Regions from separate parts of the Homo sapiens genome. Here regions 2, 3, 4, 5, 6 and 7 are each linked to region 1. Evidence: promoter capture Hi-C in 16 types of primary human blood cells and fetal thymus (Javierre and others, 2016). All regions are on one chromosome and are shown on one strand. Each heading gives the region's core, a stretch centred on a gene start or on the middle of the fragment in contact. The rest is flanking DNA. Distances are from core to core; before and after follow the strand shown. Region 1 holds the start of LRRC40 (leucine rich repeat containing 40). Region 2 overlaps ZZZ3 (zinc finger ZZ-type containing 3). Region 3 holds the start of ITGB3BP (integrin subunit beta 3 binding protein). Region 4 overlaps ACADM (acyl-CoA dehydrogenase medium chain). Region 5 holds the start of ALG6 (ALG6 alpha-1,3-glucosyltransferase). Region 6 holds the start of PGM1 (phosphoglucomutase 1). Region 7 holds the start of MSH4 (mutS homolog 4).

Evidence for each region. The method cuts DNA at HindIII sites, captures the fragments that hold promoters and counts their contacts. A CHiCAGO score of 5 or more calls a contact.
Region 2: a fragment that was not itself captured here is called in contact with the fragment with the promoter of LRRC40 in region 1 in 1 of 17 cell types (activated CD4 T cells); the score reaches 5.5 in activated CD4 T cells.
Region 3: the fragment with the promoter of ITGB3BP here is called in contact with the fragment with the promoter of LRRC40 in region 1 in 4 of 17 cell types (naive CD8 T cells, non-activated CD4 T cells, activated CD4 T cells and 1 more); the score reaches 10.0 in naive CD8 T cells.
Region 4: a contact is called between a fragment that was not itself captured here and the fragment with the promoter of LRRC40 in region 1, in 1 of 17 cell types (naive CD8 T cells). The highest score is 5.1, in naive CD8 T cells.
Region 5: a contact is called between the fragment with the promoter of ALG6 here and the fragment with the promoter of LRRC40 in region 1, in 6 of 17 cell types (non-activated CD4 T cells, activated CD4 T cells, total CD4 T cells and 3 more). The highest score is 22.2, in non-activated CD4 T cells.
Region 6: the fragment with the promoter of PGM1 here is called in contact with the fragment with the promoter of LRRC40 in region 1 in 2 of 17 cell types (total CD4 T cells and activated CD4 T cells); the score reaches 9.5 in total CD4 T cells.
Region 7: the fragment with the promoter of MSH4 here is called in contact with the fragment with the promoter of LRRC40 in region 1 in 8 of 17 cell types (naive CD8 T cells, non-activated CD4 T cells, total CD4 T cells and 5 more); the score reaches 25.3 in naive CD8 T cells.

What each region holds. Positions count from the first base shown.
Region 1 is chr1:70,203,268-70,206,960 of GRCh38, forward strand. It overlaps LRRC40 (leucine rich repeat containing 40), which reads right to left and starts at 2,312. Exons shown (of 15, transcript NM_017768.5): 1 at 2,123-2,312. The coding sequence starts at 2,273. It also overlaps a transcript of SRSF11 not described here. RefSeq lists enhancers at 1,906-1,965, 2,226-2,535. The HindIII fragment of the contact is 8,465 bases long and covers 1-3,693 here.
Region 2 is chr1:77,566,114-77,569,870 of GRCh38, forward strand. It overlaps ZZZ3 (zinc finger ZZ-type containing 3), which reads right to left. Exons shown (of 15, transcript NM_015534.6): 13 at 2,219-2,353; 14 at 1-68. Among named protein-coding and RNA genes, the nearest start is that of ZZZ3, 110 kb to the right of the region's middle. The HindIII fragment of the contact is 3,871 bases long and covers 1-3,607 here.
Region 3 is chr1:63,520,698-63,524,477 of GRCh38, forward strand. It overlaps ITGB3BP (integrin subunit beta 3 binding protein), which reads right to left and starts at 2,528. Exons shown (of 9, transcript NM_014288.5): 1 at 2,432-2,528. The coding sequence starts at 2,436. It overlaps EFCAB7 (EF-hand calcium binding domain 7), which reads left to right and starts at 2,828. Exons shown (of 14, transcript NM_032437.4): 1 at 2,828-2,937. RefSeq lists enhancers at 1,927-2,550, 2,712-2,791. The HindIII fragment of the contact is 3,975 bases long and covers 1-3,363 here.
Region 4 is chr1:75,730,078-75,733,569 of GRCh38, forward strand. It overlaps ACADM (acyl-CoA dehydrogenase medium chain), which reads left to right. Exons shown (of 12, transcript NM_000016.6): 3 at 2,567-2,664; 4 at 2,776-2,845; 5 at 3,451-3,492. Among named protein-coding and RNA genes, the nearest start is that of ACADM, 7.1 kb to the left of the region's middle. The HindIII fragment of the contact is 1,211 bases long and covers 1,638-2,848 here.
Region 5 is chr1:63,365,933-63,369,573 of GRCh38, forward strand. It overlaps ALG6 (ALG6 alpha-1,3-glucosyltransferase), which reads left to right and starts at 1,695. Exons shown (of 15, transcript NM_013339.4): 1 at 1,695-1,755. RefSeq lists enhancers at 1,155-1,294, 2,155-2,264 and a silencer at 1,495-1,974. The HindIII fragment of the contact is 8,093 bases long and covers 1-3,277 here.
Region 6 is chr1:63,591,296-63,594,660 of GRCh38, forward strand. It overlaps PGM1 (phosphoglucomutase 1), which reads left to right and starts at 2,116. Exons shown (of 11, transcript NM_002633.3): 1 at 2,116-2,439. The coding sequence starts at 2,194. RefSeq lists enhancers at 2,103-2,392, 3,093-3,152 and a silencer at 2,433-2,732. The HindIII fragment of the contact is 4,618 bases long and covers 1-3,365 here.
Region 7 is chr1:75,795,127-75,798,594 of GRCh38, forward strand. MSH4 (mutS homolog 4) reads left to right here and starts at 1,756. Exons shown (of 20, transcript NM_002440.4): 1 at 1,756-2,103. The coding sequence starts at 1,860. The HindIII fragment of the contact is 6,934 bases long and covers 1-3,272 here.

The sequences.
Region 1 (3,693 bases), core at 1,062-3,561:
TGCTAAAAAGTTTACCTATACCGTATCTTCTGGGCTATGGGAAGTCATTAAACGTTTTGAGTGATGTAAGATCTGTTTTGGAAAAATAACTCTTGGTAATGACACTAGGATTTAGAGTGTGAGGGTAGTTGTTGTTGTTGTTTATGGACAGGGTCTCACAATATTGTCCAAGCTAGAGTGCAGTGGCTATTCACAGGTGTGATCATAAGGCACTACAGCCTTAAACTCCTGGACTCAAGTGATCCTCCTGCCTCAGCCTCTGGAGTAGCAAGAGTGAGATGTAAAGTAAAAACTCCAGGAAACCAACTAGAAGGTGCTGCCATGATAACAGCAATGGTGAATTTTTACTGTGTACTTTTTATGTACCAGGCACTTTATTTCATTTTATCTCATTTAGACCTTAATAGGTCCTGTTATGACTCCTGCATAATAAATGAGAAATTAGGGCACAGAGTGATTAACCATCTCAATGTTATGTGAGCAAAGATAGGAAGATAAGAAGCACGACCCCGTAACGAACTACAAACAGTTCAGAATTATAGTGGTTTGCCTATCAAAGTTTCACTAACAAGTGATGAAACTGAGGGCTACATACAGCCAGACAGAGAAAGACTTTCTATATTATAGTAACAGGGATTCCTTTTTTATATATAAGCTACAAATACCATGAGTTTCTGCCATTTATATCTTTCCCTCCTATGAAATGCTGTTTATTCACTCATTTAAAATCATTTTATGTACCAGGTAAAGTGTTAGGTTCTGGTTATATAACAATAACCTAAGCAGTTCTAATCCATATCATCACGGACCTAAGAGTCAGAATCCATGTGCTCTCTTAAAGTTTAACAGACGAAACCACCTGAGTCTAGTCAATAAGTACATTCTAGCACACCACTTATGATTTGAGAATACTCATTCACTTACTTATTGCTTCCGCAAAATTTAATAAGACTCTACTATGTACCAAGCACTATTTTCAGTGATAGAAATACAACAAAGCACAAAACAAAGCTCACTGACTTCATGATATTAACCTTTTGGTTGGAGGGCAGAGAAAACAAAAAACATAAATGATATAAATTCTGATAGTGATAAATGCTGTTAAAAAATTAAACAGGTAAGAGAACAGAATGTTAGCATGATAGGTATGCAAGTTTAGAGAAAAATGTTTCAGGTTTTGGGGAAACCAAGTAGATATATATATATGCACAACTGTAGTTTGAAAATGAGTATGTTCCCATTGATCAAAAACTCTTTTAGGTGGAGTAAGGATTCTGTGTCTTTTCATTCATTCAGAAGCATTTGCTTGCCTAATCTACTTTATACATGTCACAATAAGAAAGCAATCATTAGAAGGAAAATGGAAGGTTTTAATCAGTCTTAAAACCTAAATATAAATGAAGAAAAACATTACAGGAAAAATGCTCTATTTCTCCATCTCTCCATTCCCCTCCCTCTCTCTCTTACACACACACACACACACACACACACACGACAATCAGAAGAGCATCTGGCCATTCATTCATGGTACCCAGATTTGTGCTTCTTGGTCTTTAACAGGTTTCTCAGGATGTCCCCACATTCAAACACTCTGTGTGGCATCTATCCTGATCTTCAACTTAGAAAATATACTCATTATTCCTTGTAAGTAGAACTCTGCACAGCTGCATACAGAAGAGCGTCTCGGCAGGGAACAGTGCAGGTTCACAAAGGGGCCGATAAAACATATAATTTTAGCTTTGGTAATTGCCCTTGAAGATTACAATAAGAGGAGGAAAATAAGGGCCAAAGAAACAAAAGATTTGCCCGTGATTTGATAGCTGGTTTCGTCACATATTATGTTGCTTATCCCACAGAATGTGGGAATCCCAGAAAGCGCCCCGTTTAAATTTAGACCGTATTTTTAGCAGGGTCCCTTTAACAGAGATTGCGGGAACCTGGGAAGGAACTGAACTGGGCTAACCAAACCGGTCGAAATGAGCACAGGGATTAGATTAGAGCACAGAAATTCTGGCTAGCAGTCTGAGAAAGGGGGCCAAAGCCAGCCCAGAGAAAAGGGAGGTTGCCTGGGCCAAAGGCTTTCTGACAGGAGACACAATAGGGTCGTACCTCTGGGTCTTACCTTCACTGAGGTTTCTACCCGACAGGTTTAACTGGCCGCTCTTCCTCGCTGCCTTCAACAGCCCTTGGGGTACCGAGGTACCGCAGTCTCTTCCACCTGCTTTGAAACCAGCGCGGAGATCCTGCCCCGCTATCCGCTTCAGGCGCGACATGTTCAAAGTCCTAGGTCCAGAAGCTGCAGCCCCACCCGTGACGCTTAAAGGTGGCGCCGTTGGGATGCCCCGCTCCTTTCGTGAGCGCGCGCTCTGGGCGCTGGGCTCGCGGCCTCGCGCTGGGCCTTCACTCTCTGCGGCGCAGTCCAGATGTCGTCAGCACCAGCGCCTGGGCTGGAGGACAGAGAAGCCTTTTCCGTTGCCGGTGCCGGCCTAGCGTCCTGGAATTACTTCAATCAAGTAAGTGCGTTTAACGGGCTTAAGAGGGGCTTTCGGGTTTATTGTTTGCACTGTTACTGCGACTCCAACCTTCTCCTCTGTGCTTCCACCGTGGCGAGGGTGTGGGGAAAGAGAACCCTCTCTTCTCCCCTCTCCTAGTCTGAACGTGGGCCTTGACTAAAACTTGAGATCTGGGCGCGGTCGGCAGCGTTTCTGGACCCCAGCCTGTGTTTGTCGCTTGTGGTGGTGGCGCCAGACCTCTGGCGTACGGAGTAAAAGAAATTTTCTGTTCTTAAGGCTTGTACTCTGACACCATTCTCGTTGTATTGAGGGTATATAGCTTACCCAGCAAAGGAGGTAATGTGAAATGGAAGGACTGGCAACATAGAAGACAAAAACAAAAATCCTTAAAATTTAATAAATGTTCTGTGTATCAGACAGTTTAGGGAGACAAGTAGTGGTACATGCTTTAGTGAAGCTCAGACAGCTTGGATTTTTGAGCCCTAAAAAGCAAGTTCAAATCTCAGCTGCTTCTTTACTTTAGAAACTGTTAACTTTAGGCAGTTTACTCAACCGCTTTTAAAGCTCATTCCTTTTTTTCATTACTTTGGGGATAATTCCTACCGCATAAGGTTTTTGAAATAAGTGAAGATAAAAACTAGAATCTTGAGCTCTCGGTGAGTCCAGAATAATAGCAAATGAAAATTTTGTTCAATGTAAGTCGGTGTTTCCTAGGAAATTAAAATTTTCATCTGAAATGTACAACTTCTTGATTCAACAAGTAATTATTAAGATTAATCCTGCCTAGTATGTGTACTATCCTGGGTGCTAGACTTTTCTTTTGCCTGAAATGATTTTGTTTTAAAAGCATATGCCAGGGAATACCATTCTAACCCCCATCAAGTCTACTGAGGATTGGTAGAATAGTTGAAAGCTAGGATGAAGGCCCTTTGATCAATTCTTCATCACGCACTTTTACCTGAGTCCAGGTTATTGCTACCTGTAAAATTCGGTTTTTAACTCTACCCTTTTTGTTCTTATTTCTGTGGAGTCCTTTACACTAATATCGAACAAGAGAAAGTTACCAATAGTTGTTACCCTACTAAAAAAGCAAAGAGTGGATTTTTGTCTTTTTTTTTTTTTTTTTTTTGAGACAAAGTCTGGTCTGTCGCCTAGGCTGGAATGCAGTGGCGTGATCCCG
Region 2 (3,757 bases), core at 422-2,921, 7.4 Mb after region 1:
ATTTCTGGAGGACAATCCTGGCAATGCCACCGAACACCCTGGATGGGTTCTATGCCACAGTTATCACACTATAACAGATTCAGAGAGAAAATGTATTAAGTTATACTGTTCCACGATCTTTTTTATTTTCCACAAGGAAACACATGATGTGCACACAGACATCTTCTCTTCTCTCTCCATGCACAGGACAGTAATATAACACACAAATGGTTATGTGTTAGAGACAATTTCTAGCAAACTAGGTAAAATTCCATCCACTCAATATCAAGATATGGGTGAGTGAGAGGAACATTGGAAGGGATAATCTTCAATCAGCTTAAATTTATTTAAAAATTTTTAAAAGTAAATCATCTCCAACTTGGGTGTTTTGTTATTTGTAATCATCTACTTGAAAGGTACCTCAGACCACTGTATGATGACTATGGTTGAGAAACAGAGAGTTAATACCATAGTTAAAACTATCCAAATACTGGTTAAGGAAGCAATGCCACAGCTGCCTCCTGTAGTGCTTCACTGTTGGTAATTGATACAGAATTGTTTTAGCAGGTTCTCTTGGCTAACATAAACCCAGGCAACAATGAAATTCTGTCTAAACTTTTATCTCTTATTGAATCGCTCTCCCAAAGCCTAAAGACTCCTAATAACCAATGCCCATCATGTCAAAAAGGCAGATCTAGCTCTTTCTCAGCGTGGTGGCATTGTGACAGTCCTCAGTGTGTTCTGTGCACTTTTGGAAATCAAAGGATCTATCATTTCTAGTTTCTTTGATCATCTGGTCAACTATAGTGGCTGACAGAATGGCAAACAAGCCATGGCTGGGTTTTGCAGCAAAATTAGGAGAAGTGAAGCAAGTTTTTCTGAAAGGCCAGAGCTGCCAGTTAGGAAAATCTCTATTGGAGAAACAGGGTCACTGAAAGATCAAGAGGGAAAATCATTTAATATAGTATGGTTACTGGCTACTCTAGAGGATCAAAGGTATAACTTTGTTTTTAATTTGGTTTACCAGTCACAGCACACATCAGTACTTTCATGTGCACCCACCAACACCACCAAGTTTATGGTCTCATTATTACTTCCTCCAGTCCAACCAAGTCAATTCTAATGCCTAAAGGCTTCTCAAACTTGCCAATCTTTATTTCCATGGCCACCAGTCAAGTTCAGGACACCCTCCTCTTTTGTCTAAATTATCAAAAGAATCTCTAACCAGTTTCCTTGACTCTAGTCTTGCCTTCCTCTAATTAAGTTTCCATACTATGGCCAAAATGATGAGGGGAAAAGCTGGTCAGTTCCAAACCCACTGCTTTCCTAAAGATCATCACCCCCAATAGTTTAAGTAACTAGAATGATTCTTTCCAAAACGTAAATGTCATGTTACTTTCTGCTTAAAATCATTCAATGGTTCCCCCCACCAACCTCTCAGGATAGTGTGAGCTCCTTGGCAAAATTTATAAGGCGGTGCAAGCAGCCTCTAACTACTCTCTAGTATGTACTCTAGCCACGCTCAACTATTTTGTTTAACTTCTCTAAATTCCTTATGAGAATGAAAACAGAGTAAGGGCAAGAACTGAGTCTGTCTTGTTTACTGCTGAATCTCTAGCACTTAGCAAAGTGACTGGAACATAATGTGTATTACAAAATTCTGCAGAATGAGTATATGCATTTCTATTAGCCTCTCAATCAGAAAGGGAAAAAAACCCATTTCTGACCCATGAACAACAGCAACAAAAAGAGAAACGGCTAAACAAAAGCCCCTCACATTTTACCTCAATTGATAGCTACCTGTATGTCTGTCTTCACTCTACTAAATAATAAACTCTTCACATCAGGAACGATGGCACCACTGCTTTGCATAAATGAATGGGATAAAAGATAACTTTTTCCTACATGCTTAGCAATTCTGGAGTTTAACACTACAGAAACCACTTTAAAGTATCTCTTATCACCCTTTTAAAATTAAATGAATACTGCAGCCTGGCCAACATGGTGAAACCCCCATCTCTATTAAAAATACAAAAATTAGCTGGGTATAGTGGCACACACCTGTAATCCCAGCTACTTGGGTGGCTGAGACACGAGAATCGCTTGAACCCGGGAGGCAGAGGTTGCAGTAAGCTGAGATCACGCCACTGCACTCCAGCCTGGGCAACAGAGTGAGACTCTGTCTCTAAATAAATAAATAAATAAAATGAAATGAATCCTAAAATTAAATAGAACTTACCTTAAAGCCCACATGTTGCACAAATCCACTTTCAGCTTGCATTTGCTGAAGTTTCTGCTTCTTTAACTTTTTAAACTGTAATAGTTCTTTATATTCAGGTAAATTCCTATACATGATAGGAATACTTTCGTCATCCTATCAAAAAAAAAAAAAAAAAAAAATGTTGGTTTGGTAATTAAAATGAATTAAGTGTAAGTAATACTGATACAGAATATTTTTCTACTGATATTTTTCATTTTTAAAATATCTCTTAGTACTCATAGAAAATTAGTGCTGTTATTAGCAGTATTTTCCACTAATGCTTTTGGACTTTTTTTTTTTTTTTTTTTTAACACAACAGTAATTCTGAATTGTAGCAGACTACTTCAATGCAGGTAAAAGGGAAGCACGGCCATGATTACCACCTCTGTCACACACTATTGCAAACCCAATCCCATCTTTATATTTTCACGGTTACTTGAGTGACTTGTAATCTACTTCTCCCTCATTTAAGGAAGTTCCTCTTCTCCAATCTAACAGATTTTTACATTTGCTCCTGTAAACATGACACTTTCTTAATAACAAGCAAACCAACCTCTGCTCTTGTTTTTTGCTCTGTACTCCCAATGATCAAAGTAGAACATTTCTCTCCTACTCAACAAGATGAACTGAGTTACAAAGACGACTATTTAGAATGGACTGTAAGAGACATAAACAGTAAAAACTATATAAATGTATTAAGTAGGCTAGGTGCAGTGGCTTATACCTGTAATCCCAGCACTTTGGGAGGCCGAGGTGGACGGATCACTTTAGGTCAGGAGTTCAAGACCAGCCTAGCCAACATGGCAAAAGCCTGTCTCTACTAAAAATACAAAAATTAGTTGGGCATGGTGGCACGCACCTGTAATACCAGCTACTCGGGAAGCTGAGGCAGGAGAATTGCTTGCACCTGGGAGGCGGAGGTTGCAGTGAGCCAAGACTGTGCCACTGCACTCCAGCCTGGGAGACAGAGTGAGACTCCGTCTCAAAATTAAAAAATAAAATAAATGTATTAAGTTGAAGTATCCCTTAATAAACTGGCCTTCAAGGTATAAAGTCTATTTATGATTCCGAACTTTTAGATACATATGTTCGGGACCATCCCCCACCTCCCAAATTGACAAGTAGCTTTCTACTCAAAGTATTAACATGCAAAATTTGTCTATTTAAAATTGCTGACAACACTGTGGTTCATCATCCTAGACAACTTCAAGATTATCACAGATGCCCAACTCGCTATTTCTGGCCTCTAATCTTACACTGATTCTACTGAAATAATCTTCATCTTCATTCCTTCTCAGAGTCTCCCACTCCAACAGCCATACCTTGGACCTTGCCTTCAACTATAAGTGTTTTACATCCCAAATATTAAGCTTAGATTTCCTACCTCCACTGTTATTCCTACTTCTCTCATATTCTCACCCCAAATAATCAGCTTATTTTTTTAACCTCATTGAAATTTCTAATCACTATTCTGCTTCCTATTCTCCCAATTCATTTGTGCTCTGCCACCCAGGTTCC
Region 3 (3,780 bases), core at 1,278-3,777, 6.7 Mb before region 1:
ATAAACTCACCACATAATTTAAGAACTAGATCATTACCAATATGACTGGGTATACATGCATCTATTTGCTTCCCCCAAAAGGCATCTATTAAACTGTATTTATCATTTCTCTGTATTTATCATTTCTCTGCCTTTTAACAATAATCTTATCATATACATATATAACCATAAGTAGCTTATTTTTGCGTGTTCTTAAGTTTTATAAGGATAACAAATGTAGTCTCATACAAATTGGTTATTTCACTCATTATGTTAAGATTCATCCATCCGCTCTATTGTCACTGAACATTTGCTGTTTCTTATTTATTTTAGATTCATTTGGACCATATATATTTTCACAACTACTCATTGTTGTATTGAAGTTTTTTCTGCTCAAGGTTCTAAGAAATTAGAAAAAAGATAGATCACACCCTCCCGTAAGTTATATTACACATTTAGTCTTCCAAATACATACCAAATAGTCACCATTTCAACATCACTTAAAAATGAATCCACCTGCATATGTAACTTGCCAAGATAACTATTTGCACCACTCATTTATGACCTCACCAGTAACCACATTAAAAAAAAAAAAAACACTTAATTTACTAACAATGATGGAGATTCTCTACTAACATGCCATTACGTTTTATGCATTACTTAACTGTTGATTTAGTCTTAAATCACTTTGCTAAAACTTAGAAAATTAGCAAAGTAATTGCTAGTTTCACATATATATTAGCTATATATGTGAGATGTTAACCTCAACTTTAAGGTTGTGTATTTATTACCAGAATATACTTATCTAAAAGCCTAATATAACATCTTGTGTGCATATGTTAGGAAGACAGTTGTCAAAAAGGTCCACTTTTAGGCCTGACACAGTGGCTAACTCCTATAGTCCCAGCACATTGGGAGGCTGAGGTGGAAGGATCACTTAAGCCCAGGACTTCAAGACCAGGCTGGGCAACACAGGGAGACACTGTCTTTACAAAATAAAAAAATTAGGCATGGTGGCATGTGGGAGCCCAGGAGGTAGAGGCTGCAGTGAGCTGTGATCACAGCACTGCACTCCAGCCTGGGCAACAGAGCCAGACTCTGCCTCAAAAAAAGAAAAAAAAAGTTCCACTTTTCATAGTTTTTTGGTTCCCCACTCCTATACACAGATACACACAGTTCAGGAGGTATTACCACTTGTTTGGCAAATACACCTCTGTTTTCACTGTATTCTTAGGGATTTTGTGTGTGTGATTGTGTGACATTATCTTTGCAGCTTTGTTTATTTGAGAACTGGATGATTTTTCTAATGCAAGAGTAGGGAAACAAGTCTCTTTGCTTAATTCTGGGGAAAGGAAAACCTCCTCAATAATCCATAACTTTTAAGGGCATCAGTAAAACATGCATTTATTGGCAGCTGTGTTGAACACCCTATTAGGTGATGGGTTTCTTTATCTGTAAAGATAATAGCAGCCCCCATCCCCTAAAGTATTTTAGGATTCAATGAAAAAACGTAGATAAATTGATTAATACAGCACCCACATTGTAATTCAAGATTCAATAAATATAGGTTATCATTTCTGTACAGCTTTCCCCTTTCATGTCAATTCCTATTTGATACAAAAATTTCCCCAGCTGTGTTACTTTGCATTTTACTTAATCCTGAAATAAACTAAGGAACAGGTTACACTAGAGGGGGTACCTAAATCAACCTGAGGACAAGGACGGCCAAGGAGAAATTACAGGTGTTTGATATCCACCCCACTCCCCCAACCTTTAATGGCTTTTTTAAGTTTCTATAGGGTAGCAACTATTTTATGCATCTCAATATAGGATGGATGAAGGATATGAAAAACAGATGAATCTTATCTAGCACAATGCCTATTCCCACTATGGTCATTCTCAATAATCAGATTATTGGTCATAGATGGGAATTTAGAGATCATGCAGTACAAACTTATTTGTGTAAGTAAAAAAAAACGAAGCTCAGGGTCGATAAGTGACTTGCCCAACAGTGAAAGAGTCTTATCTGGAATCCAGGTATCTAGACCCACTCAGTCCATGAGTTCTCCCACGGGTTTACACGAACGCGCCACATTAATGAAGGCAAGGGACTGACAAACTACGAAGGCGTGTTTTCATCTACTCTGTCCCATCCTGTGTGTCAACCTTATTTATGTTATTTCAAGTTAGACATCACCTAAATACAGCCCACAGTTTACGAAATCTGTCAAAAGCATCGTAGAAACAGAAAGCGAAGGAGGACTATCGTATGAGTACCGCTGGAGGAGACGTAGAGTTGAGGGTACCAAGCGAAGGGAATTGCCTGTGGACAGAGGAGACAAGTTCATACTCCGAAAAAATAGGAAAACGAGAAAGGCTACTGGGCCACATAATATCTTCTCTTCTTGCAGAGGGCCCCCAAAACAGCAATACCTGGGGAGGAGATACCTACGGCATTCTGAGATTCGGGAAAGCACCACTGCCGCTGAATAAAACGAACCCAGCAACTTCCGAAAACAGAAAATCCGCCAAAGGAAACGCCAAGGCATGAAAAGCGCGCGCTGGACGTTGCGTCAAGCCCACCGCGGCCGGGCGGAAACATCCTCCCCGCGACGAAGGATCCGGGTGTGCGCGAGCAAAGGAGCGAGCGGGGAGTTCTAGGCCCAGGACAGCACCTATTTCCTGCTGGTGTAACAGAGCACCTTCTCTCACTACTCTGGCCATACCACCCCCGCGATAGAGGAGCAACACAGCTGTCTCTGTGCGCTCCGGATCAGCGCTTCCTAGATTTCTAGCCGGATCGTTTGGAGAAGGGCTCTGCATCTTATTTCCGGTGGCGGTGAGGTGCAGTTGCCATGGTGATTAGAGAAAGGCCGAGATCTGTCCAGCTGCGGTGAGAGGAACGCTGAATCGCCGAAGAGAATTGGCTGCGCTTCCTTGTTTGTGAGCTAGAATTAGGTAGCAAACAGCTCGCTGTCTCTGTCTCTTCGCTCCCTCTGTCCCTCTCTGTGCAGCTGCTTCTCCTTCCTCTGCTTTGTCTACTTCTCTGTCATAAACATTTGGTCCATGTATGTACCTAAAATGTACATGTAAATGCGGTTTTATTTCCAGAGGAATACAAAAATAGAGAGATGGTGCCCGAGATTACCTGTGACGGTATTTCACTGTGTAGGGACGGTGACTGGACGGCTTTCTGTTTTCACTTGGCCCTGTAGAAGCCTTAGGCGCTTGTTAACAGTTTATTTTTCTTGCTATTGTGTGGCTGGTTATTTATGGAGCCGTTTGCTGCAATGTACTCTCTAGGCCCCTGTCTCAGTCTCGGGCCGGAGTTTTAAGTAAGGGAGGTTTCCAAGCCTGCGGGGGGTGCAATTATATGTTTATTTAAGCTTTAGTTTGGTTTCTCGTCACAGAAAGGAAAAGAATAAAATTCTGGCACATTTCTGCCTTGGGATTTCCATGTGAGGGAGTTGCCTTGTTTGGAAAGAATATTTGAGGACGATCCTAAAATATACTTATATTTTAAAATTGCTTATTGCAAAGTGAAATTCATTCTCCCTTACTTCTTGAAACAGTTTTCTTTCACATTTGTGAGGAGATGCATGCACACATATGTGTTTAGAACTCTGATGCTTAATTATAGTATTACCAATTTGCAGTAACCAGACTGTGACACCACATCCCTGTGGGGTCCTTCTAAATCTGGTGTAATATGAAAGTGTCAGGCAGGCGGCCTGCGTATTATAAATAGGGTACTTCATCCATGATAAGCAATTATTATCTTTCTTTCCCAAGTGTAAATGA
Region 4 (3,492 bases), core at 993-3,492, 5.5 Mb after region 1:
AGATATGAGGTTTCGCCATGTTGGCAACGCTGGTCTCGAACTCCTGGCCTCAAGTGATCCACCCGTCTTGTCCTCCCAAAGTGGGATTATGGGCATTAGCCAGCATGCCCAGCCAGGGTAGTGGATCATACTGAGATAATTAGCATTAATTTGGTATGATTGCTTGTCACTTTAAATTTCTCTCTCAGTAGTAAGAGACTTGCAGGAGAAATCTATGGTGGTTCACTGAGTGACAGAGGATGAGTTAGATATAATTGTTTGGGAGGGAGATTGTGAAGTTCAATACGGGTCTATTCCTTGAACCAGTTGCATCTGGTTCTTTATCTGTAAAGTGGAAATAATATCTATAACACAGAATTTCTATGAAGATTAAATTATATGCTGTATTTAAAGCCCCTAGCACTTAGTGACTGGATCAAAGTAGTTTCTCAATAAATAATACATAATACATACTTGTCATTTTTCCTTTTTTTTTTTTTTAAGAGACAGGGTTTCACTCTGTCACCCAAGCTGGATGCAACCTTGACCTCTGGGGCTCCATGGATTCTCTCGCCTCAGCTTCCTGAGCAGTTAGGACAATAGGTCCATGTCAACCACACCTAGCTGATTTTTTAAATTTTTAAATGTTTTGTTGAGACAGGATCTTGCTATATTGCTCAGGCTGGCCCCAAACTCCTGGCCTCAAATGGTTCACCTGCCTCAGCCTCCCAAAATTCTAGAATTATAGGCATGAGCTACCGTGCCCAGACTTTCTCTACCCTCTATCTACCTGCAAGATTGCTATCAACTGGCACCAATCTTAGAAGTAAAGCTGTGATAGAGAGAACACTGGACTGAAATTCTTAAGTATACTTCTGCTAATTCATTGTGAGACTGATACTAGAATTTCCTTACTCTGCATTAGTTTATCAATAAAAAGAGAGATTTGGCTGGGCGCAGTGGCTCGGGCCTGTAATCCCAGCACTTTGGGAGGCCGAGGTGGGCGGATCACGAGGTCAGAAGATCGAGATCCTGGTGAAACCCCGTCTCTACTAAAAATACAAAAAAAAAAATTAGCCGGGCGCGGTGGCAGGCACCTGTAGTCCCAGCTGCTCAGGAGGCTGAGACAGGAGAATGGCGTGAACCCGGGAGGCGGAGCTTGCAGTGAGCCTAGATTGCGCCACTGCACTCCAGTCTGGGCGACAGAGCGAGACTCCGTCTCAAAAAAAAAAAAAAAAAAAAAAAAAAAGAGATTTGATCTTATGCTCTTCAATTCAGCACCAGAATTCAGCTTTTATGTATTGTTTCTCACATCCCCATACAAATGATTACTGTAGTCTTAAACATTCCTCTGTGCATTTGCTCTCATTTTTCTTGCTTGAAATACCCTATTATCTCTTAAATTTTACCTAATCTTTGACGTTAGATGCAACCACATTAAAACACAAGGATACCATGGATTTGAAAAGATGCAGTTAGCAATTGACTCCTCTCCTCAATCAAGCCACCATACTAATTTCATTAATTTTAAAACAATCCCTTATTTTATGTAAACAAATTGTTGGACACCATTTATTAGCATTGCAGCAGGATTTTATGTTATTATCTTTTGAAAAACCTTTCTACCACTTTTACCAGTTGCTTTGTGCTAATTTATAAGCTTGTCTGAGTTTAAAGGAGCTGTAAGCCTAGGCATGGTGTCTCATGCTTGTAATCCCAGCACTTTAGGAGACCACGGCAGGAGGATTGCTTGAGGCCACGAGTTCAAGACCAGCCTGGCATCATAGTGAGACCCTGTCTCTGTGAAAACAAAAAAAATGAAATAGATAGGGTGAGGTGGCTCCCAGCACTTTGGGAGGCCAAGATGGGAGAATCATTTGAGCCCAGGAGTTCTAGACCCATTTGGGCAACATGGCAAAACCCTGTATCTACAAAAATTACAAAAATTAGCCAGATATGGTGGCATGTGCCTGTGATCCCAGCTAGTTGAGAAGCTGTGGTGGGAAGATCATTTAAGGCCAGGAGGTCGAGGCTACAGTGAGTCGTAATTGCACCACTGCACTCCAGCCTGAGTGACAAAATGAGACTGTCTCAAAAAAAAAAAGCAAAATTATGATATTGATATTCTTATATGACACTTTGAAATAAGTTTTATTGCTTTATGTCACTGAGTGTGTTTCATCTATTTCGTTAGATTGATTCTTGTCGTCAGGGAGATGTCTTGTATATTAGTTTCACTTCAGTGTTAGCAAACATTTGATAAATTGGCTTAGGAACTAATAATAAGTTAAACGTTTTTTATATCACCAATTGGAAAAGAAAAACTCACTTGAGCTCTACAGGTTAATATCTATTACTCATTTGTAAAAGTTAAAAATCTTACCTATTTCCTTTAGCATTTGTATTGACATAGGTTTATTTATATTGTGTAGTGAACTCTTGATTAGTCAAAAAATGCACTGTAGTCTGAGTTTCTGATAATCAAGGATTTAAGTCCCCACAATAAATACACATTTCTACATACTGACTTCATAGGACATTTTTCCTTGTTATCCAGTTTTAACTTTTCTAAATAATTTTCCCTTAGAGTTCACCGAACAGCAGAAAGAATTTCAAGCTACTGCTCGTAAATTTGCCAGAGAGGAAATCATCCCAGTGGCTGCAGAATATGATAAAACTGGTGAAGTAGGTATATACATTTTAAAGAGGGAAAAATCTTTTACATTTTTTACAAGATTATGTAATCAAACTATCTGGATTTCAAAATATATTTTAACTCAGTTCTTTTTCTTCTAGTATCCAGTCCCCCTAATTAGAAGAGCCTGGGAACTTGGTTTAATGAACACACACATTCCAGAGAACTGTGGTAAGCTTTCTTTATATTTTTAATACTGGAATGCATATGAGTAAGAAAAATTGTGGAACTCTACTCAGTCATTTTTTTCAAATATTTCTTGCCATTAAATGACTTTCTACCTTTGTCTTCCTGCTCAGACTACAGTGTTTGCCCACTTTTGGAAGCTTGCACTCTATACCTAGATGCGTTTTTCCTTCTTCTAACTGGTTCCAACCTTAACTTGCACCTAAACCTTGGTAACTTCCGTTTCTAGAGTTGGTCAATTTGTTGTGTTTTATTCCTATCTTCTATATTACATTTTATTGAGTCTTTTTTGTGAACCATGATTCTTTTCCTCAGACCCAGTTTTAGAGTTGAATTGAGTTTTAACAAAATCAAGTTAGAACAGGAATACAGGTTCAAATTACAAATAGTAAAATAATTTTTTGAAAATTTTAGAGCTTTAAGAAAGTATAATTTCTTATTGTGCCAGCCAGAACACATGTAGATATTATATTGCAAATTTCCTTTTAAAACAAATTTTGGTCATATTGAAAGCAATTAAAATAGTTTACCTTTATTTCTATTGTGATGTACTACATATTACAATGTGTTGAAACATTTTGATACTGTAGGAGGTCTTGGACTTGGAACTTTTGATGCTTGTTTAATTAGTG
Region 5 (3,641 bases), core at 445-2,944, 6.8 Mb before region 1:
CTGAGGCAGGAGAATTGCTTGAACCCGGGAGGTGGAGGTTGTGGTGAGCCGAGATCGTGCCATTGCTCCCCAGCCTGGGCAACAAGAGAACAAGAGCGAAACTGCGTCTCAGAAAAAAAAAAAAAAGACCTGTACATGTTTCTTCTTGCATTGATCTCTCCCTTTGCAGTTCCACTATTGCCATCTCAGTCCAAGCCCTTGTCTAATCATGCGTGGACTGCTATAGTCTCCCTCTGATTCATCTGATCCATTTTCACCACTTTAAGTTTTCTCTAACACTGTAACTGTACTGTATACTTGACTCCCTGCTAAAAGTCATTTAATAGCCCCTTACTGATCACTGGATACATTCCAGACACCATAGCCTGGTATTCAAGGCTCTCTACAATTACCAGTCCTTTCCAGCTTCATCACCCACCACCTAAACTAGAGGAAATGTTCTACACTTTTCAGCTGCCACAATATTTGGCTTGAACCATTTCCTTTGTCTAGATTCTTACTCTCATTCTCTGGGCTTATCCAGCCAGGCTTTCCTTCAAAGCTCAGCTGACTCCTCCAGGAAAAGCATTTCCTGATGGTTTGCAGTTTACAGTGAACCCTCTTCTCCTAACTCCTACAGTGCTTAGTGCATATGTAAGTAATGTAACATTTAGTATGTGTTTCCTTCTATAGCTTTTTATCCTTTTATGCATAAAAATGTCTTTCCAATGAGAATTAAATGCCTTGAGGGCAGGGACCTGCCATATTTCTCCATATTCCCAGTGCTGATGGTCTTTTAGATATAATCATATTTTAGACCTGGAAGTTCACCTAGCCCTACTGATTTCTTTCACAGTTGAAGAAACTGAGGCCCAGAGAGAAGTTATTCAGACTCAGTAGAAAGCCATAGTCCTAGCCAAATATTTGCTAACACTTACAAATTATAGGGGTTGGCTTACGTAGAATGGCAAGATTCAGAAGTGGGGAATGAGGGCACTCTCTGAACAAAGGAAGGCAAGTAAAAATCATCACAGCCGTCCATGCGTGATTGGACAGAAGCCTAGACTGAGATGGAAATAGTGGAACTGGAAAGGAAGGGATCAATGCAAAAGGAAAAGTGTGCAGGTCTTACTAACTTACTAGATAGGTATTTTTGGCAAGTTTGGGACCAGGTGATTCAAGCTGCCCGCTGGGGCACGTGTAGTGGCTACTCGAGGGCAGGGCTGTCCTTTTGCACAACGCACAGGCTCTCGCAAATGGTTGGATGTTCAATGTTTCTTACTTTAGGGGGCTGCCCAGTCTTCTTCTTCGCAGGCATGTGGCTAGAAGAAAGTGAAGCAGGTTGGCTTTCTGGCTCCTCGAGGGCACAGGCCCAGAGGTGGTGAGGACCGGCCAAGGCTCTCTGCTCAGTGCAGCAAGCCAGGGCCCGCCCCTGACAGGAATCCGTTGGCTAAGCAGCCGCTCCGGCCTTGGCCACGATCCCAGGAAAGAAGAGCAAGGGGCTTTCCACCTGCCCCTAGCCTAACCCGGGGCTGGGGACCTCTCGGGTTCCATCGGCTCTTGCCCCGCCTCCTAAGCCGGCCGCCTCCTGTCCAGGCCAGGTTGCCCGCCCCTCCCCTCACGCTCGACGGGCTCGCTCCCGCACCGGGCGCGCGGGTGGTGCGCGGGCACACGGAGGCGGAAGGCCGGAGGGGCAGTCCGCCGCGGGGGCGAGCGCGCATGCGCCTTCCTGGGACCCACGGCAGGCGCGAATCCCAGCGGCCGGCGGGCGGCGGGGTAAGAGCATGGGATCCCGGAGGTTCCGGACCCCAGGCCAGTGTGGGGAGGTGCCGGGGGCTCGGACGCGCCACGAGCCGGCGCAGAGCTGGCGACCCGTCTCCCAGCTCCGCTCCACTCCCAGGGACGCGACGCGAGGCCTCCCCAGCCCTTCCTGCAGGGTCGCTTGTGGGTCGGGTGAGGGGACGCGGTGATAGTGGTGGCACTTGCAGGCTGGGGCGGTCCTGGCACCCTTGTCCTTGCGGTTCTGAGGGCCTGGCCCTCAAGAGGAGGGGCGGAGAAACGCGAGAAGGGATCCCTTTCGCCCCATATACACGCCCGGGATAGCTGCACTCCCCGGTGTTGTGTCCACTGCGGTGGAAGGACCTTTCAGACTAAAAGGAGCAAAGTCGGTTCTGGGATGGGGACGGCGGGCTTGGCATTTGTCGAGATGCACCGTCAGGGCAAAGGAGGACGAAAAGCGCATCTACTGCCTGCCTAGCAACTTCGTGGCCAGTGGATGGGTTAGAAAATTACTGTTTTCTGATTTACAGGTGGAAAAAGTCGCAAATAACCCTTTTTCTGGTTTAAGCAGAAGAGAGTCGTTAAAAGCCTCGCATAATATCTTTAACCACACAGGGCTCAGTAAAATTAGGGTACCTCCCCGCTTCGTACACACAGACGCACACAGCTCCATTCAGCAAATACTTCTTGGGTACCTGCCTTCTGCTAACACTGTTCTACAAGTGGGGAACAGAGAGCAACGACTAAGACAGGAGGATCCCTGCTCACAGGGAGCCTTTAGTCAACACATCCAAGTAATTTCCTTTTACACTTTTTTTTTTTTTAATTGAGACAGAGTCTTGCTCTGTCGCCCAGGCTGGAGTGCAGTGGCACGATCTTGGCTCACTGCAACCTCTGCCTCCCGGGTTCGAGCGATTTTCCTGCCTCAGCCTCACGAGTAGCTGGGATTACAGGAACGCACCACCACGCCCAGCTAATTTTTGTATTTTTAGTAGAGATGGGGTTTCACCATGTTGACCAGGCTGGTCTCGAACTCCTGACCTCAGGTGATCCACCTGCCTCGGCCTCCCAAAGTGCTGGGATTACAGGGGTGAACCACTGCGCCCAGCCCCTTTTATGCTTTTTAAATTGGAATATACCATATAGAAAAATACTGTACGCAAATTATAAGTTGTAACTTGTTAATTTATCCTAAAGTCAACACATTTCCTAACCACTACTCAAATCAAGAAGGAAGATTCACAGCATTTCAGAACACCTCTCTGGGCACCCCTCCCAACCACCATCCCTTCTTTCCTCCCCAAAGGTAACCTCTTTCCTGATTTTTAACACCATAGATTAGTTTTGCCTATTTATGAACCTTTCATGGAACCATATGATATGTATTCTTTGGTGTCCAGCATTTATACTGAAAATTATGTGTGTGAGATTGCACCATGTCATGTGAAAATACAAATCCTGTTAGTGAAAAGAATTAGGAAGCAAATTGAAGGTAATGATACAAACAGTAAGGGGAGGAAGCTTTAGTAGGATAGTCAGGGATGATCTTTCTGAGGGGATGATTTGAGATTTGGCATCAATGACAAAAGATTAGCCATTCCAATCAGTTCTGGAGTTATCCCGTGATGTTTTTATTTTAAATAAGAAAATAATTAGGGCCGGGTGCAGTGGCTCACGCCTGTAATCCCAGCACTTTGGGAGACCAAGGAGGGTGGATCACCTGAGGTCAGGAGTTCAAGATCAGCCTGGCCAATCTGGTGAAACCCCGTCTCTACTAACAATACAAAAATTAGCCAGGCGTGGTGGTGGGTGCCTGTAATCCCAACTACCTGGGAGGCTGAGGGAAGACAATCGCTTGAACCCAGGAGGCAGAGGTTGCGGTG
Region 6 (3,365 bases), core at 866-3,365, 6.6 Mb before region 1:
TAACCCTGTCCAGAACAGCAGAACTGCCAGTTAACTCATAGAATCATGAACTATAATCATGAATGGGGGTTGTCTTAAGCCACTCAGATTTAGACTGGTGTGTTATGCAGTTAAAGCTAATTGTTACAACTTCTGGGGTGAGAGAAGTATAGATCAATTCCTCTTAAATGAAAAGCTCCATCATATTTCCAAAGATACTGAAGAATATAGAAAGGGCATGAGATCTGAATTTGGGCCCGTGACTTTACAAGTTATCATTTATTGATGACTTACTTATTAGCACTGTGGTAGGAGCTGTATATTCTCTATCTAAACCATACAACTCTAAGGTAGGTATTTTGAAGGCTCAGTGAATCTATGCTATATTTTCATTTTGTGGAGTTAGATAACCTTGATTACATTCACCATCCAATCCTCAATTCTCTCGTCTATAAAATGGGCTTGATTATATTATTTAATTCACAAGATTACACTGCTCTGTAAACTCCTGTGCAAATATTAGAACTCATTACTAGCAGTCCAGGGTTCCGTTTTCACATAATATTTGCCACCGAAACTCATCTATAGTGACTACATCAACACACTGTATCTACATAGCATGTACTATATGAGCATGTATATCAACACTTGGTTTGTGAGAGTCTGCACTCTTATGGGTCTGTTCGCCTCCCTGCTTGATCAAGACATACCAATTAACTACCAAAAGAATATAATTCACAGGTGAATGATATGCTCTGGTTTTGGAATTGGGGAAGGGGAGCTAATATTTTTGAAGGCCTCTATGTTTCAGGCACCAGGCTAGATGATTTACTTCTAACAGCTGATTATGATTGAATTTGTTTGGACTGGGTCATTTAGAAACCACCTCAAGTAATTCTACTGTGAGCATGGGTCACAGTAGGATTCTACTGTGTATCCATGACTGAGAATTTCTGACATACAAAACCCCATTAAATCTTGCAAAAATATTCCAAAGTAGGTGATATGTTTATTTTACAGTAAGGAAATTGATGCCCACGGACATTAACTAACTTTCCCAAGAGCACACACCTTGTAAAGCCAAGTTTTTTGCCACTTTACCAAAATGACAGGTTTCTTGAACAGAGGAGACAATCACTCTCATCAAATTAAGGGAGATACTAAACCGAAAAGCAAGAAAGACTGAAGATTCCTACTTAATAATCAAATCCCCTTGGTTGACCTTGCTATCCCCCGTGAAACTTTTCCAGCCATGTCAGTCCTTGTTTGTTGATCTCCTCACTTTATTTCTATTACATGAGTAACTGGCTAATTTTGATGGTGTTCATACTTATCCTTACCATATATTTGCTCCTACATTTGTCAAGTCCTGCTTGTACATTTCCTAGTTGCCAACCTGGTGTCACAGCGGGCAAATCATGGGAAGAGCCCTGGTTTTGGAGCCAGACCACCTGAATTGGCCTCCCGCATGGACTTAGCTGTGTGGCAATGAGACAAGGCATTTTATTCTTTGAATTTCAGTTTTGTAAGCATAAAAAGGGGAAAAATAAAACCCAGAGTTTAGTAAGGTTTAGAAACGCTACACTCAGCAAGTCATAGCTAAGTCACCGTCACCAATGGTAGTCAAGTGTGTGGTGCAGCAGGAAACATTTGGAGTCGACTCCTTTACGGAACTCAAATGCCCTCACATTTAGGGAGAAATAGAAAGAATTACGACTCATGAAATCGAGCTGGGGCTGGCACTTCTGACCCTCCCAACAGGTTTCCAGAAAGCTATTTACACACGATGCATTCGCCAAACCACTGGAAATCATTCTACCCTGTACTTTTTTCCACCCTGCCTCACGTCCTTGCCCTATGACCGGGTTCCTACCCCAACCTCTGCCCCAACACTTAGAGGAGGAGTTGCGGGCCTCTTTTTACAGTGGATAGGATTCCGAAGGGGAGAGTAAATCAGTAAGGCTCCACCCATTTCACAGGAGGCCTAGAGACCGGCGCTCCCCTTTCCCCTCCCGCCGGACCTGCCAGGAGGTGGGCTGGCGCGGAGGGAGGGCCCTGTCCCCTGTCCCTTTAAGGAGGAGGGCCAAACGCCGGCCTAGAGTGCGGCGTAGCCCCCACCCGCCGTGCCCTCACCCCAGAGCAGCTGCAGCCTCAGCCGGCCGCCCCTCCGCCAGCCAAGTCCGCCGCTCTGACCCCCGGCAGCAAGTCGCCACCATGGTGAAGATCGTGACAGTTAAGACCCAGGCGTACCAGGACCAGAAGCCGGGCACGAGCGGGCTGCGGAAGCGGGTGAAGGTGTTCCAGAGCAGCGCCAACTACGCGGAGAACTTCATCCAGAGTATCATCTCCACCGTGGAGCCGGCGCAGCGGCAGGAGGCCACGCTGGTGGTGGGCGGGGACGGCCGGTTCTACATGAAGGAGGCCATCCAGCTCATCGCTCGCATCGCTGCCGCCAACGGGGTAAGGGATGCGCGGCCCCGCGCCGCTGTGCACCCTGGCGCGTGTGCGACGTGCGGCCCGCGGCGCCCTCCCTCGCTCGGGGCCGGCCGCTTCCGCGCGCTGCCGCCTCGGTTTCCACCTCCCGCTCCTCCCTCTCCTTCGCGCTCGCTCTTCTGGCCTGGAGGCCCGACGGAGGTCGCCGGGCTGGGGAAAGTGGCCACGGGACCCGGCAGACCTGCTCGCCTGACTCCCGGGGCGCCGGGAGGTGCGGGCGCGGAGCCTCCCAAGGTCACGCCCGACTCTCCGTCTCTAGCCGCTGCCTTCCCTCTCCCCGTCCCCCGCCCCTCCCGAGGCGTCTGACATTTGCCCTAACCTTGCAGCCTTGGAAGATACGATTACGGCGCAGAGTGCTGTCGCCTTAAGCAGGAAAGGTTAGACTGCCGCCGCCTCGCCCAGAGCCCCCTCGCATCCCGCCCGCTCCTCTGCTATTCTCGGCTAGGACTGGCGCTTCCCGCTGGCTCGGAGCCCGACACTGTGGGGCAAGGGTGGCGAGAGCACCCATCCCCCTGGGGCGTCAGGTTGGCAGATCTCAGCAGGCGGGTGCCAATCTTTTCTCCCCGCCCCCTAGTTTGCCTTGGTTCCGAACTCCTGCCCTTTGCGCGGCCTGCTTGCTGGGGGGCAGGCGTTTGAAACATCTAGTCTCTGCCCAGTGGTGCCCGGGATCTGTTCCACCGACGGGGCTGGAGCTGAATTTTCATTAGAATGGCAACATACCCAAAGACGCCCTTACGCAAGCAAGCAGTCGTGGCAGGCCAGGAAATTACCGCAACACCTTGGTTCCGCCCCCGGCCAAGGAAAGTTAACTGACTTGATTGGGCGGGTCCACTCGGATAGGGGAAATTAAAAAAAAAAAGTTTTTCAGTAAATCTGATATATGGAAATGTGGG
Region 7 (3,468 bases), core at 506-3,005, 5.6 Mb after region 1:
CTTAGGTTAAATGGCAATCTACCATCTTAAAATGGGGTTGTGATTCGGACTGTCCTTTTTTTTTTTTTTTTTTTTTTTTTTTTTAGCATTTTATATATCAGAATTACCCAAAGAAGGAGTTGTCTTCAAATAAGGAAACACTAACGGGTAAGTTGATGGTCACCACAGTATTTTTTTGCACCTGTCTTTTTCTTAAAAAGCTAAAATGGGTACAATCACTCTTTTTTATTTTTTTGTGACAGAATCTCTGTTGCCCAGGCTGGAGCGCAGCAGCACGATCTCAGCTTAACTGCAACCTCCGTCTGCCGGGTTTAAGCAATTCAGCCGCAGCCTCTCGAGTAGCTGGGACTACAGCCGCACACCACCATGCCCGGCTAATTTTTATGTTACTTTAGTACAGACAGGGTTTCACCATGCTGAGGAGCTGGAGACCAGCCTGACCTTGTGATCCACCCACCTCGGCCTCCCAAAGTGCTGGGATTACAGGCGTGAGCCACCACGCCTGGCCTAAAATGAGTACAATCACTCTAGGGGTTTACAGTTTTGGTGAAAGTGAGGTATTCTCTATTTTTAAATTTTATTTTTTAGAGACAGGGTCTTCCTTTCTTCCCCAGGCTGGGGCATAGTAGTGCAATCACAGCTCACTGTAACCTTAAACTCCTGGGCTCAAGCAGTCCTTCCACCTCAGCCTCCTGAGTACCAGGGTCTACAGGTACCTGCCACCATGCCCACTATGCCCAGCTGATTTCTTAATTTTGGGGACAGGCACTGTCTTCCCCAGGCTGGTCTCCGGAGGTGAAGTAATCCTCTGGCCTCAGTCTCCCAAAGTACTGGGATTACAGGGAGGAGCCATCGTGCCCGATCTGAAAATAAGGTTTTTTGATGGAAATTGAGATTTTTCTCAAGTATGTTTGGAATGCCCTGTGCAATAATCATTCCAAGAACAGAGATGTTCTTAAGGACTGTTGTCACTGCATGTGGGTAAACCGCTGTGCATAACTGGTTTATTGAGATACTCAACAGTGGCAGGATTTCAGTAGTGGTGTAAATTAATGTCTTCTAATAGCTTCTGTATGGCAGTATCCAGATAATTTCGTCATGTTTAATCCATGGATCTCTGGTAAGTTGGTACTATTGGCCTTATTTAAGGAATTTTCTAAAGGTCACCACTGCAAAGCTGGAGTTTGAACTTCTAGTGTGCCATTAACTGATTTATATGTTAGAAACCACAGTACTAGAAATTGGTAGATGGGGAATTGTTAACTGAGAGATCTTACCCAGTCAGTCTTTCCCTGTTTCCTACTCTACTATGCACACAGCCATGTGCATACTATCTTTTGATAATATAACTATCTTTCCTATATTTGGTCACAAGATCAACCTTAGGTGGGTTATGCTGTGTGAGCATTACACGTTCTCATTGTGTCAAAGGCACTGGGTGTACTGTGTTGGGTGGTTTCTACATTTAAAGATAAGCTAGTGTGCTTGGACGTGTGGGAAATGCATGTAACATTTGCAATAAGGGAGATTGGGTGCTGTGAGAATAATGGGGCTAACAAATCGGGTGGTCATTGATGGGCCTTGCAGAGTTCTGGTCAGTCTGATACCTGCAGGCTGAGGATGTTCCAGTGAGGTTCATGTGGAAAGTGATGGGTTTGGGAATGGCTGGAAGCAGGGTCATAGACCTGAAGTACGTGAATCCATGTGGAAAGCTGAGCCTGCCTGCGCCTGCGCAGTGCAGCTTAGTGCGTCGGCGCGCAGTTCTCCCGCCCGTTTCAGCGGCGCAGCTTCTGTAGTTGGGCTACTGGAGGGGTCGCTCAGAAACCTCATACTTCTCGGGTCAGGGAAGGTTTGGGAGGATGCTGAGGCCTGAGATCTCATCAACCTCGCCTTCTGCCCCGGCGGTTTCCCCGTCGTCGGGAGAAACCCGCTCACCTCAGGGTCCCCGCTACAATTTCGGACTCCAGGAGACTCCACAGAGCCGCCCTTCGGTCCAGGTGGTCTCTGCATCCACCTGTCCTGGCACGTCAGGAGCTGCGGGCGACCGGAGCAGCAGCAGCAGCAGCCTTCCCTGCCCCGCGCCAAACTCCCGGCCAGCTCAAGGCAAGGAGTGATTGGGTGGAGGAGTCTCCTTGAGGCTAGAGGCCGGCAGTTCATGGAGGCTCGGGGGCACGTGGGTGGTGGTTACCACAGTGAAGTTGTGATTTGGTTGGGGCGTGAGATCTGAGTGCCCTGGGAATTTGGTGAGTCTGGGTGATTAGAAGCCTTGACTTTTCAAATTGGTTCTATTGCAAGACCTTGACTGTGGATGGCTCAGTTCTGAGAAAGGCTGAAGTATCCCATATAACGTCCCTCACAGTGTCTGACAAATGACAGTTTGTGCGTGAGTTTGCTGATAGAAGTTGTGAGCTGATCTTTGGCTGCTGAATTTAATTCTCCAAATCCTGCTAAGGTGGGATAAAATAGATTAAATTGAACATTTCATCTAATTCAGGGAAAATAATATGTTTAGTATTAAAAGAGTGGGCTGGGCGGTGGCTGACGCCTGTAATCCCAGCACTTTGGGAAACCAGGGTGGGCGGATCACTTGAGGCCGGGAGTTCCACACCAGCCTGGCCAACATGGTGAACCTCCCACCCCCATCCCCTATCTCTACTAAAAGTACAAAAATTATCTGGGTGTGGTGGCACGTGACTGTGGTCCCAGCTACTCAGGAGGTTGAGGTGGGAGGATGGCGAGTCCGGGAGGTCGAGGCTGCCGTGAGCTGAGATTGCGCCACTGCATTTCAGCCTGGGTGACACAGTGAGACCCTGACTCAAAACAAACAAACAAAAAAGATGCATGTCCTTCAAATCATTTATTATTTTGTTAGTCTCTATTCATGACAAAGCATCACCATTTTTCACACACGATTGCAACACAATGGTAAAGTAACAAATACCAAATCCAATGGTCATTTTTCAGTTCATCTCATGTGACCTTTCTGCTGTATTTAATGTTCTTAATTTCTTTATTTTTAGAAACAGAGTCTCGCTATGCTGCCCATGCTGGTCTCAAACTCCTGGTCTCAAGTGCTCCTGCCTCGGTCTGCCCAAGCATTGGGATTACAGGCATGAGCCACTGCTGCCTGGCCTATGTTTAATGTTCTTGACTGGTCTTCTCTTAAACTCTTTTAATTTGGCTTCCTTGATTCCACTTGCCCCTGTTTTTCTGCTACCTCCCAGAGAATTGCTGTGCCCACCTTTGTTCCCAAATTATGGGCATGTCATTAAAGCTTTTTTTCCTAGGCCACTTCTACCTAGATGTGACTATCTCCACAGCTCAGATCTCATCTACACTCCAGACTTACTTCAGACTGTCTTCTGAAGTTTTTATTGATGGACTAATGGATACCTCAGGCTGACTATATGATTAATTAAATTCCTCTCTGCACTTTTTTTTTTTTTTTGAGACAGAGTCTTGCTCTGT